Regions from separate parts of the Homo sapiens genome. Here all the other regions are linked to region 2. The links are contacts of gene promoters, found by promoter capture Hi-C in blood cells and fetal thymus (Javierre and others, 2016). All regions are on one chromosome and are shown on one strand. Each heading gives the region's core, a stretch centred on a gene start or on the middle of the fragment in contact. The rest is flanking DNA. Distances are from core to core; before and after follow the strand shown. Region 1 overlaps KCNB1 (potassium voltage-gated channel subfamily B member 1). Region 2 holds the start of KCNB1 (potassium voltage-gated channel subfamily B member 1). Region 3 overlaps KCNB1 (potassium voltage-gated channel subfamily B member 1).

Region 1 (4,075 bases), core at 860-3,359, 110 kb before region 2:
CTTGGGAGTTATCTGATGGGATGGCTCACTGCCATCTGAGGGTCCCAGTTTGGCTCAAATTTCTGATTCTAGGCAGAGCCCCAAGCCCTGCAGCTGACAGTGAGGTGGGTGGTATACCAAAACCTAAACGAATGCAAGTTGGAGATTATCTGGGCTTTCTTCATCTTCCTGCATGAGTTGACGGATGGAGAATCACTTTCTGCTGAAGATCCTGCCTAGTGAGATGTCCTCCGCCCACCCAGGACTGAAAACTGCCTCTGGAATTAATTATCAGGACAGTCCAAAAACTCCCCCAGGCGTGGATAGGTGGAAGCTGGAAAACTGCCCCTGTCCTTGCCACACACCTCCTGCTCTATGGAGCCAGGCAGCTGGCAAGGGAAGGGGAGATGAGCTAGCAGATTCGGGGACATCTCTTCTCAGGGTTTGGCTGCAAGGGTGTCTGGCCACTGTTTTTTGGTGAAGCTGTTAGAAATGGATTGAAATGGACTGGGTGCAGTGGTGGCTCACACCTGTAATCCTAGCACTGGGAGGCCGAGGCAGGCAGATCACCTGAGGTCAGGAGTTCAAGACCAGCCTGGCCAACATGGAGAAACTCTGCCTCTACTAAAAATACAAAAATTAGCTGGGCGTGATGGTGCGCTCTTGTAATCCCAGTTACTCAGGAGGCTGAGACATGAGAATCACTTGAACCTGGGTGGAGGAGGTTGCAGTGAGCCGAGATTGCGCCATTGCACTGCAGCCTGGGCAACAGAGCAAGACTTTGTCTCAAAATAATAATAACAAAAAAATAAATAAATAAACAGATCGAAACAAGGAACTGATAAACAAGTTGGTGAGATCGGAGGCCCAGCATGTTCTTGTGAGGTTCACGAGAACCTGAAAAACCTCTGACCTTCAGCTCTGATTGATGTTACAGGCCGACAGGGTGCTGGACATGTGGGAGCAGCCCAGCCAGGAGGGACTCACATGTGTTCTGGATCTCAGAAATGCCAGTGATGAGTTTGCTTGCATGAGATTTTTGGTTCCAAGATCTCTGGGGATGAGAAAACTCAGTCCCTTCAGATCCCTAAAGGGGTGTGGGATATAAGTGAAACCAGCCCACATCCCATCCTGATTTTGAGGGCCATCTGTAGCTCTGCTTCCCTGGGTCTCATTCCTGCATTCATGCCCTGGATTCTTAAGAACAACGAATGGGAGAAACACACAGAAATGAATGAGGAAAGTCACAGCATTGACAGAGTCCAGGCCTAGTGTCAAGAAATGCCTACACAAGGAAGTCAAACCCCAAAGTCTTTCCCCACCCTCAAGAAATCAGAATCAAAAGGAAGAAAACCCAAACAGCCCAAGGGACAATGGTAGGAACTGCAAAAGACCAGAAAACATCAGCTACGATAATGACCAACAATGAAACTCCTAAGATATTGTTCTGTATTACAAAAGAAGAAATTAGACTCAATTGCCCTATTATAAATTTGCTAAAAATACATATATATATATATTTTATCTGAACAGAAAAATAGACTACTCTGAGATGCGTGGACATTCTATGACATAGTCGCGCATCAGATACTTCTAGAGCCAGAAAAATGGCAACAGAAAATGCAGAGGTAACTCTTATTTCTGGGTGTAGCCAGGACTGGTTTGGGTTGCCTGGGCTGAGTGACATGAAAGCATTTGGATGCTGTCCTATAAGCAGTGATAGGTGAGGAAACATCAGCTCGGGGCTGGAAGCTTTCCATTGTCCTGCCGGGGTCTCAGGGGAGCCCCTTCTCCCTCCTGCCCACTCTGCAGCTACAGAAAAAGTCCTTTCCCAAAGAAGCATGTCCGGAGGCTTTTTGCCTTGCTCTCTTTTGATTCAAAGTTACTTGAATTGAGGCTGAAAAAAAGCCTGGGGTATTGTTACTTGAGATTAGTTGGTAGAGAAATAAGAATAGGAGAGAGATTAGCGATAGAGACCTGGCTTTAGTGGCTCTTGTCCGTGGTGAATTTTAAATATCCCCTTGTCCATGGAACTAGACACTCCAGCTGGGACTGGAGCAAGACAGAAATATACAATAGTTACAAATATCAACAATACATTACAGTTTTACAGAAGAGAATACTGTTTTGTTTTTCTCCTTAGAAACATGGATCTTATTAGGAGAAAGGGCAGAGACGAGGCTACAGTTACCAAGACACATGGAGAAGCTGGAAGTCAGTTTGAAAAAGTTTGTATCACCAGCAGTTTTCAGGGGCAAGCTGGGTGGGTTAAAAGAAATGGCCTCCTCAGGATTTTGTTGTTTTTCCTTCTTACTCTTCTTCCTTCTTGATCCCCAGTCCTTTGGAGAAAGGGACTTCACGGGAACAAATGTTCTCTCCTCCTTTTTTCTTTCCCCTTGAAGTGTGCTTAAGATAGAATTCCTAAAGAAGGCACTGAGAAATCTACTGCACCAAAGTCCTGTTGGTTTCTTTTACCCAAAGATAAAAAGGTGAATATACTGTCTCCTCCAAAGCTTCCCCACCTCTCTCACCGCCGGTGGCAGACTCTCCCCCGTGTGATTGGGACACATGGCTACCTGGTCCCTAGCCCTTTCAGATAATTGTGGAAGTTGGAATGCAAGTTCAGCTGGGTTCTTGATGAGTTTCAGTGAATTTGCCAAACTGACCAGCATCCATTCGCCGCGTCCAGCCCCTAGTTTGCTTGTTTGGGTTGACTTGTTTCTTTCTGCTCTCATTGGTTCAGGAATGAATGGGAAATGGACCACCAAGTTAAAGCAGGATTTGCCTTCAGACCATTGCTTTCCTCTTCTCTTCTCTATCAAGACCTTTCTATCGAGTGAACTTCTCAGTGAAGACTCTTAAGTAGATTTCCCAGTGCATGTATATTCACGTACATAGGTACAGGTTGGGTGTATACATATTAAAATTTGGATATGTTCTTTTTTAGCGGGTGGATGGGCTGGGAAAACTTATAATACTCTCTTTCGAATTGAGCACAGAATAAAAGCTATACTCCCCCAGTACATACACACACAAGTAAAAGAAAAAAAAACCCAATCAAACCCAAACAAAATACTTTCTAAGCATAGTATATGCTGAATTTCAATTATTCTGTTTCTATAAGAACTCTATAGGACTCTGGCTATGAAGCCTGAAAAGGTAGGTTCTTAATGATACTTCTGAATTCGTCCTTCAAAAGTGACTCAATAAAATGCTACTTTACGGTTGGACAAAATACACAAGGAAGGAAGGGCCAGGTCCTACATGACCACAGAAGGCAGAAAGGGCCTTTGGTTACAAGGAGAGTTGCACCAATTGGTTTTCGTTTTTTTTAAAAAAAAAAAAAAACAAATCATTTTCAATCTGTACAGTTCTCATCTGCTTCAACCAACAAATGAAATGCCTCGATTGGAAGAAGGGGTGGTAAGTTCCTTCTCAATATATATGGCTATATTGAAACATGTTCACTTTCCTGATATGTAAAATAGACTATATTATTATTATTATTATTTTTTACAGATAGCATCAGCTCTAAAAATATCTGAATTGGAAATCACAACTATTTACTTTTATCAAAAAGCATTTGTTTTTTTCCCTGAATTTTCACATTTGTGCTGATGGTGGACATTAATGGTGATGAAAACAAAGAAGAGACATGTGAGATGGTCGGCGGAGAACTGTCCCACAGTCATTCCTCAAGAGGCCCCCAGCTCAGACTGCGTGTTCAGCAAAGTGTTTTGGGAGTGCTGCTTCCTCTGCCTGGCACGGGATGACCTCACACTCTCCCTGCCCCTAAGTCCCTTTGCAGTTGCTGCGCGAATACTCTGAAGATACCTAGGAAGAGTGACGTTCTCGTTTTCTCTGTTAATGCGGCAAAGAACAGGACTGCACCCTCTTGGGGGGATCTACAGTCTCTGGAGATGCTGAGAAGTGTTATGAATTGGGTTTGTATACAGCAGAGAAGACATATTTTTAAGGGTGGTGGAATGATCCCATCTCATCATATGTGTGGCAGGTGGCTCAACCTTATGCCTTATGTATGAAGAGCAGGCAGAACAGCTCCATGATATTTGTGTACTGAGAGGTGGATCATGCC
Region 2 (4,331 bases), core at 1,827-4,326:
GGGGCCAGATTCTGCCTGGGCCTTGTATGCCAGGATGAAAAGTCTGAATTTTATTTTGAGTGTGATGGGAAACTTCTGGAGGATTTTAAGCAGATGAATAATGTGATCCAATTTACATTTTGAAAAGCTCACTTTGGCTGCTATGTGGGGAATGGATTGCAGGGGCAAAAGTGGAAGCCGGGAGACTGGGGAGGAGGCTGCGGCACTTGATCATTATAGAAAGAACACTCGGTTTGGATTTCTGGCTACTCCTGACTGCCTGTGGTGTGACCTTAGGCAAGTTACTTAACCTCTTTCAGCCTCACTGTTTGCGAAAGGTGGGATAATAACAGAGCTGCGTTGTTACACTCCATACACAGTAGGTGTTTGATCATTGGCAGCCAGGATTTCTATTCTGAGGGCCAGTGAGCCTGCCTCCCTCCCCATTTCAGCTCTGGCTACAGAAAATCCTAGATGGTCCATCTGCCAGGAATGTGAGCTGGCAGCCCCAGACTGGGATCATGGAGAGGTCACAAGGCTGTCCCTGCTAGCGGATTAACCCAAGGGAGAGGAGAGGTTCTTTATTCCCAAACAGCACCTCTTGCAAGCCCCGGTGCTTGGGTCTTGCTGCCAGACCAAAACATGGCCCTGTGCCTGCTTCTTCTCTGGGAGGGCAAATTGTCCAGTTCCCTGTACCTTGTTCTCATGTCTTAGGGATGGGACAGGGAGGGAGAGTCACATTTGGGCCTAAATGGGATGTGCAGTGGGAGAACCTGTGTCATGCCTGGAAATAGCAAAATAAGTCTGTTGATCCTAAGCTGATTAAGGGTGAGTGACTCTGTCTTAGGAGGAGGCTTTTTGGACACAAAATTGGGGGCGGGATTATGGAGAGAGACAGCCCACAGCCTCAGAGGAGGAAGCCAGGCCCAGGAGCCTCTACATCCTTGTTAGGGCCAACAGGGAAACGAAAAAAACACGTGGGGGCTCCCTCCACCCTCTTACCAGCCACCCCTTCTCCATCCACTCTCAGGGGCCTCTCCTTGGGTGGCTAGATCTGGAGGAAGGACCCCACGGAGTCTCCCTTCAGACTGGGACCTGCAGGTGGGCCTTCAGTGAGAACTGAGCCGGAGACCCCACAATGAAAGGCTGGGCTGGACAGGAGTCAGCCCTAGCTAGTAAGATATGGCTGGATATTTAGGCTTCCTCCTCTCCTCTTTCTTTTACCACAAATCTACTTACCTGACCCCTTTTTTTAGGCCCCACACTCAGTTACATTCTCCCCATGTTTCCCAAGTTGGTCTTGCTGGATTTCAACATCAACATCTCTCTTTTCTGGGTTCTCCGTGAACCTCACAGAACCTCTTTTATAGCCTTGCACACACTGTTTTGTCATTTGCTCCCAGCACCCAGCACTTCGGGCACATGAAGACAGGCCCCATCTTTCCCAGGCAACCCCAAATCCCAGCCTGACGTAGAGAAGTTGCTGATCAACCAGTGCCCTCCTGCCCTGCCTTGGCTCCCACCCCAAGCCTTCCTCAGTCCCCTACAGCCCCTGCCATTACCCAGCAGCACCAAAGACTCTCTGGCCCACTCTTTGTGTTCAAACTCATTCCTGCCTCCTCCTCCTCCTCCTCCTTTATTTTTCACATTGCCTCATTTTTCTCTCCTATTTTGAAATTTACATCTTGTTCCAAGAGCTGAAACATCTTTACAAGCTGCACCAAACCATTCTGGAAATAAACTCACCAAATAAATAAGTAACCAGGGGGTGACCCCTCACCCGCAAGCATCCACAACCAACTGCATGTGTCGTGTGGGTCCACACCCACCCCTCGGGGTCCCTTCTTACTTATGTTTAAACTATCTGACAGTATCTCAATGTCCTGTAAGCATGTCTGTAAGCTGCTTTTTTCCCTTGCTGGGGCAGAGTGAGGTTATAAATATGGAGATATTAAAATCACAGGGTGATCCAATCCAGCCTAGGTCTGGGACTTCACAGGGAAGCAAACCCTACTCCACCCCAGCAAGCCACTGTTGTCTCTCTGTGCTCTCTCTCTTATTCGTCAGTGTCCATCTTCTTGCTGTGGCTTTTTATGGGTCCCTGTGAAACCTCTCCAACCAAGTAGGGGTATAACGTCTTGGATAATAAAAAGATGGAGTGACCAGTGCCACATGGGAAAAGTCTGAGGGGGTTGGTCCTCACCTCTGGGGACTCAGTCCTAGCCCCTCCCCATTACTAATCTTCATCGTTGGGAACAAAGCCAGAGTCCTCCAGCAGTGGTCCTCAATATGGGGATGCAAGCAGATCCCCCCAGACCAGCAGCCCCCAGATCCCAGACTCACCTTGGCAGCCACAGAGGAATTGGGCTTCTCCAGTAGGTCCCAGAGTTTTTTCCTCTTCTCTGCGCAGCACGTGTTATCGAACTCCTCGCCTTCCCGCTCCCGTAGGGTCTCGGCCTCACGCTTGAGCTCCTCGTTCATCTGCTCTTTCTTCTGGTGGTAGCGGGCCTGGCAGCAGGACTCCAGGTAGATCTCGTCGATGCCCCAGTAGTCGAGCTCTTGGCTGAAGCTGAGCGCGCACATCTCCTCCATCATGTGCAGTCGCCCAGTGCGGTAGAAGTTGAGGATGGAGGTGAAGGCGCCCGGGTGGCGGTCAAAGAAGTACTCGTTGTCGTCGAGGCTGTAGTCATCGCACACCTCGAGCAGCGAGTCGTGCGTGTTGCAGTCGCGGAGCTTGCCCAGCCGCGTGCGGGGCAGGCGGTCCAGGGTACGCCAGAGTACCTCGTGCGCCAGCCCCCCGACGTTGAGGCGGACCCGCCGAGAGCACGCCTTGCTGCGCACGATCTCCATGGGCTCGGGCGGCAGCGAGCTGGTGGAGCGGGAGCCATGCTTCGTCATGCCCGCCGGCATCGCTGATCCGGCCGCCCCCGCCCCCCCTGCCCCCCCAGGCCGCTGTCACTCGACGGCAAGGCCCGCTGCTGCGGGGGAGGGGGGCAGGGAGCGCTGTGGGCTGCTGGGGGTGCAGGGGGCCCCGCGGGCGCGCGTCACGGCCGTCTTCTCACCTCCATCCCGACGGCTGCGAGGCAGAAAGCGAAAGCGGACGCGGGTCAGCAAACGGGGAGCTGGGCATGCTGTCCCCCCGCCCCCCACCTCTCCACCAGGCTCCCAGCCGGCCTTGACCTTCCCCCGCGCTTAAGCGGCTCAGTGGGGTAGGACGGATGGTCGCTGTCCCTCCCGCCGGTGCTGAAGTCCGCCGCACCCCATGGATGGAGGGAGGGGCCGCCCCTCGGGGCGGGGAGAGGGCCCCAAGAGATGCCCCTGGAGCCCGGGAGGCCCCACCCTGGGCTTCTGCGGCCCAGGCGCGACCCAGCCGCCCGGGGCGCTGTCCGCCCCTTAGAGTGCTGAAACTCTCTTCATTATGGGTCTCCCGATCGAGTCCCGAACCTGGCCCCGCCATGGGGAGAGAGGGGGAGCTGCATGAAAACTTTCTTTCTTTATCTTTTTCTTTCTTTCTTCTTCTTCTTTCCTTCTTTTTTTTTTTTTTAACGAGTTCTCTTCTTTTCCTTCCCCTTCTCGAGATAATCAAGATTTTGGGGGTGGGGGAATGGCAGCGGGCTTTTTTCCAAATCTTAAAAGATTTGGGGGAATTCCGGGGGTTCCAGGTGCCCACCTGTCCGAGGTCACAACAGACGGGGTGTGCACAACAGCCCCTCTGTCCTGGAGCGACCCCTCTTCCCAAACACTGGAGCATCTCCTGAGATTGCTCCAGCGACAAGGTGAGCCGCGAGGAGGAAAAGCCCGCTCTCGCCTCTCCCTCTGAGCCCCCAACCCTACCGCAGGAGGGGCGGGCAGAGTCCTCGGGATCCGCCTGCTCCGTCCTCCCCTCGCTCCTTCCCCGCCCCCTTCTCCTCCTTCTCCTCCCCCTCCTCTTCCTTCTCCCCCTCCTCCTCCTCTTCCTCCTCCTCCTCCTCCTCCTCCTACTCCTCCTCCTCGTTCCTCTCCCGCGATGGCTTTTTATAACTCCGGGTTCTGCGCCTTTCCCCGGGCTTGGAAGGGAAGGGGTGGGGGAGGTGGGAGGCGGGGAAATGAGCTAAATTTTCTGGCCTTTTCAAAAGGTGCCATCCTCCTACCGCGCACTAGTGATTTCGGGGGGTTCCCCTGAGCACCCCCTGCATGTAGGGCTCACGCCTTAGCCCCAGAATGGGGATTGCGCGTCCCCTCAGGCCTCAGCCCTTGCCTGCCTCCCACCCCGCTCCCCTCCAGCCTGGAGCTGCGGAGCCCGAGCAGACCAACAGGCCGAGCTGCGGCAGGCAAACCCCCTGTCCGTGTCCCCATGCACCCCCACGGAAGGC
Region 3 (4,172 bases), core at 294-2,793, 89 kb before region 2:
GGACTCAGTAGCAATGTCACCAGCTTTTCCTAGACTGAATTAAGTTGAGTCAGCCCTTTCATTGCCCTGTCACAGCAGTCTTTGTGAAGTTTCATCACTCGCCTTCTTAAAGTCCTCCAGTGGTGTCCTGCTGCACTTGAAACAAGGTCCAAACTCTTATGGAGGCTGCACGGCCCTGCCTGACTTGGCCCCTGTTGACCTCTCTGATCTCTTTTTCTCTGTGCTCTTGCACATAGTCACTCCCTTCCAGCCACACTGGCCACCTGTCTGCTCTTCCACATGCCAAGCCCACTCCTGCCTCAGGACGTTTGCACTTGCTGTTTCTCTGTCTAGAACATCCTCATCCCAGATTGTCTGTGACTGGCTCCTTCTTATCCCTCACAGTCTCTCCTTAGAGAGACTGTCCCTCACTGCCTGATTAAAAATACCTCTTCCTCAGTCACTCACTCTTGCTGCACTGTTTTACCTCCTTGGTGATTTGTCACAATCTGCAGTCATTTTTTTTTTTTTTTGACAGGGTCTCAAAAGGGTGCAGTGATGTTATCATGGTTCACTGCATCCTTGACCTCCCAGGCTCCAGCAATCCTCCCACCTCAGCCTCCTGAGTAGCTGGGACCACAGATGTGCGCCACAATGCCCAGCTATTTTTTTTTCTTTTTGTAGAGATAAGATCTCACTATGTTACCCAGGCTGGTCTCAAACTCTTGGGCTCAAGGAATCCTTCCGCCTCAGCCTCCCAAAGGGACGGGATTATAGATGTGAGCCACCATGCCTGGCCAAATCATTTTGTTTATTTGTTTGTTTACTCATTTATTTTCCGCTTCTCCACCAACCTAGGTTAGCACATCAAGGGCAGGGACTGTGTCTATTTCACAAGGCTGGGTCCCCACTGCCCAGCACAGAGCCAGATGTGGCATTGGCACTCAACAAATACTGGTGCACTAAATGACTGCCTGAATGAATGAACAGGTGAATGGTTTGTGAGTTGGTCAGTTGGATGGAGGGATGGATGGATGGATGGAAGTTTGGATGGATGGGTTTAGAAGCCATGACCCCAATCGGACCACCCAAATGCAATATGTTTACTGAGCACCCCTCCTATGCAAGGCACTATTGGAAAATGCAAGCTTGAATTAGCAGCTGGATGCCTGATACTAATGATATAATAACAGCTGAGATTTATTGATTTCTCACCAAAGCAGGCACTGCGCCAACTGCATTGCATGACCGATCTCATTTACTCCTTATATCAACCCCAGGAGGTAGATACTCTCGTAATTCCTGCTTTGCAATTGTGAAAACCAAGCCTCAAAAAGGTGAGGTTCCATTGGAGGAGGAAACATTTGGGCTGGGGCTTGAGGGCTAGAGATGGATTCCAGCAGGCAGAGATGGGAGTAGGGGTGTTCTAGGCAGAGGCAGCTGCATATTCAAAGGGTTGGAGGTGGGGAATAACAGTCAAGCCAGTTTGGCTAGGGCAGGTGTGCACACAGAGAGAAAACTGGCAAGAGGGGAGACCACCATTTACTGCACACCCGCGACATGTGAGGTACCAAAGCATTTATTCACCATCACCCCAGGAAGTAGCTCCTCTTTTCACCTTCATTTTTCAGAGGATGGATCTGAGGCTTGGAGCCCCTAAATAACATGCCCAGAGCCACACAGCAGGATTAGGACTTGAATTCATGCCTGTCTCACTCTGAGGCTGGGTCAGAGATGGATAGTCAGAGGTTCAGGAAGGAGTTGACAAGGCTGGCTATGGAGTAACTGAGCATGTACTGGGAGCCAGGCACAGCATACTATCTCAATTAATCCTCACAAGTACCCAGGAGGTAGGTATTAGTGTGGTGGATATGTTTTTGGATAGTTTAGCATCATTTTTTGGGAATTGTTCCTCCTCCACAATCACGCATTAAGTGAAGTTGACCCTGTTTCTCCGTTTCAGGGGGTAAGAGTGAGATCCAAGCTTACCAGTTAGGATAATTCATCTCCCTGGCCACAGGGATTACTTTAGTAGTGTGGGCATGACTAAAATTGGTCAATCAGGGTTCATCCTGGAACTTTTTCTCAAATTATTGGGAAAGAGGTGGTCTCTTTCATCAGGGGCTGTTGGGTTAACAGGATATCAACCAGAAGTGGCTGGAGGGTCAACTCTGGCTCTCTGGGGAAAAAAAATCTGCCCAAGAGTGTAGCCAAAGCAGAGGGACTCTGTGCCAAGACACAAAGACAGGTTTCTAATGACATTATTTGAGCACCTGGATCCAGCCATCCCTGAAGCCATCCCTTTGGATTTTCCAACAATATGAACTGATGAATGCTCTTTTTGGATTAGGCCAGTTGGGCTGGATTTCTGACCCTTGCAAATAAAAAGTGATCTGACTGAACAAAATTGTTATCTTAATTTTACAGGTGAGAGAGCTAAGATTCATAGAGGTAAAATGACTTGCGTTTAGGATCCACAGGAAGGAAGGGGCTGAATCACACTGAGATATCACAAAGAAAGTGCATGGCATCTACCAGGTCCTCAAGAAATGCCTGTTCCCTTCTTCCATAGATCAAGGAGTGGTGGAGAGAAGGACGGGAGGAGGTATACCCACTGGTGGAAGCTCCCCCATGAGCCGCAAGCTTCTGGGCAGATTCTAGATTGCATCTGGAATCCTCCAAACTCTCCCAGCCTGCACTGGGGTCTGGCAGGAGCAACCAAAGCCCAGGAGTTGACACATAAAGTGAACAAGCGGTCAGATGTCAGCATTTGAACAAAATTCCTGAGGATCCCACTCTCTCCAAAAAAGTGTCATCTAAGAGCCCTGGCTGCAACACAGGGTTTCCATAGAAGGGCCAGAAGTCTTAGCACTTCTCAGGGCTTACGCTTAGTAGGATCTTGTACAGATAATTGTTTCAGTACCACCAAGGATTCTGTGGTCACTTGAACTTCTCAAAGCTCCTTCATATTGAAACTGGATAGAGAGTAAGGGGTTAGCCTACAAACTTTGACTTTGGACAAAGTTGGGTTCCAATCCTGGCCCTTGGCAGCTGGGTGACTTTCGGTACATTACTTAACCTCTCTGAGTCTCCCGTGTGAAACAGGCAGAATCGGAAGATGAAGTCAGACAAAACAGGTAGACACTCTTAGTACAGAGTTTGGAACCACTTCAGCTTTTGGGCAAGCAGATTAGTTCTAGATATAGGTTGAACTCTGGCATGTATGATCACATTAACTCTCTGAGCCTCAGCTTCCTCATCTGTAAAATGGGGCTCAGAATAATACCCCCTGCACAGGTGGTTGTCAGGCAGCAATGAAATCATGCATGGAAAATGCGTACCCCAGGGTACGCATGTGAACCGAGGACACCCTGCCAGCAGGACGGCCCCCCACTCATCCACCGGCAGGGAGTTTTGGCCCACACAGTGAATTCGTTGCCAATATTTATTTTCCCTATGAATTCACATTTGAGCTTCTCAAGAAAAATCTGAAGCTCTGGGTACTCTTGGTCCACGCTGCTCCGTGGCAAGCCCAGGCTGCCGCTGCGCGGTGTTAAGTCCAGTCCTGTACTCTAAAATCTCACGTGCACCCTGTGCGTGTTGTTTATGAGGCTCGCTTGGCTTCTGCAGGAATCTGGTTTGGGAGCCCAGGAATAAATCATTAGACGTGTAGCCAGCGATGAGGGAAAAGATTAAACAGTGCCAGAGAAGCAGTCATGGGTTCCTTAGGGAATGCTGGGCCAAGAGCTGGGTCCGCGAGATGCCCTGGATCAGGAATATGCGGATGGAATCCCTGCCTGGGCCAGCCCCTCATCCATCCGTATATGGCTGCAGAGAAGCCATGTTGCTGCTTCCTTAGAGCCCCTGGCTGCATTTTCCCCTCGTCTCTCCTGCTTCTAGACTGCTCTGAAGCTCCTCCTAGTCCCCACCGCTCATCCTACCACACCTCAGTAAAGCAGAATTAGAGGATTAAAAAAGACGGGCAGGAGATAGGGGACTACTTTAGCCCAACGGCTTTGGAGGGCCTCACTGAGGAGGTGATGCGTGAGTGCGGATCTGAGGAATGCAAAGGAGCCAGCTCGCAAAGATCTGGGGAAAGGCCGGTCCGGGCAGCAGTCACGGCAAGTGCAAGGGTCCTGGGGCAGGGAAGAGATTGGCAAGAAGAGGAGGAGAAAGGCGACCAGTGTCCCTGG

Evidence for each region. Contacts are between HindIII fragments. The CHiCAGO score rates a contact against its expected background, and 5 or more counts as called.
Region 1: a contact is called between a fragment that was not itself captured here and the fragment with the promoter of KCNB1 in region 2, in 3 of 17 cell types (endothelial precursors, M2 macrophages and M1 macrophages). The highest score is 8.1, in endothelial precursors.
Region 3: a fragment that was not itself captured here is called in contact with the fragment with the promoter of KCNB1 in region 2 in 2 of 17 cell types (endothelial precursors and M2 macrophages); the score reaches 7.7 in endothelial precursors.

Annotation. Positions count from the first base shown.
Region 1 is chr20:49,367,004-49,371,078 of GRCh38, forward strand. KCNB1 (potassium voltage-gated channel subfamily B member 1) reads right to left here. Exons shown (of 2, transcript NM_004975.4): 2 at 1-4,075. All of the region lies in intron 2 of LOC105372649 (a long non-coding RNA gene), which reads left to right. Among named protein-coding and RNA genes, the nearest start is that of SNORD12, 88 kb to the left of the region's middle. RefSeq lists an enhancer at 1,618-2,171. The HindIII fragment of the contact is 761 bases long and covers 1,730-2,490 here.
Region 2 is chr20:49,479,592-49,483,922 of GRCh38, forward strand. It overlaps KCNB1 (potassium voltage-gated channel subfamily B member 1), which reads right to left and starts at 3,077. Exons shown (of 2, transcript NM_004975.4): 1 at 2,323-3,077. The coding sequence starts at 2,889. The HindIII fragment of the contact is 15,223 bases long and covers 1-4,331 here.
Region 3 is chr20:49,391,746-49,395,917 of GRCh38, forward strand. All of the region lies in intron 1 of KCNB1 (potassium voltage-gated channel subfamily B member 1), which reads right to left. The region is part of intron 2 of LOC105372649 (a long non-coding RNA gene); the gene reads left to right. Among named protein-coding and RNA genes, the nearest start is that of KCNB1, 89 kb to the right of the region's middle. The HindIII fragment of the contact is 836 bases long and covers 1,126-1,961 here.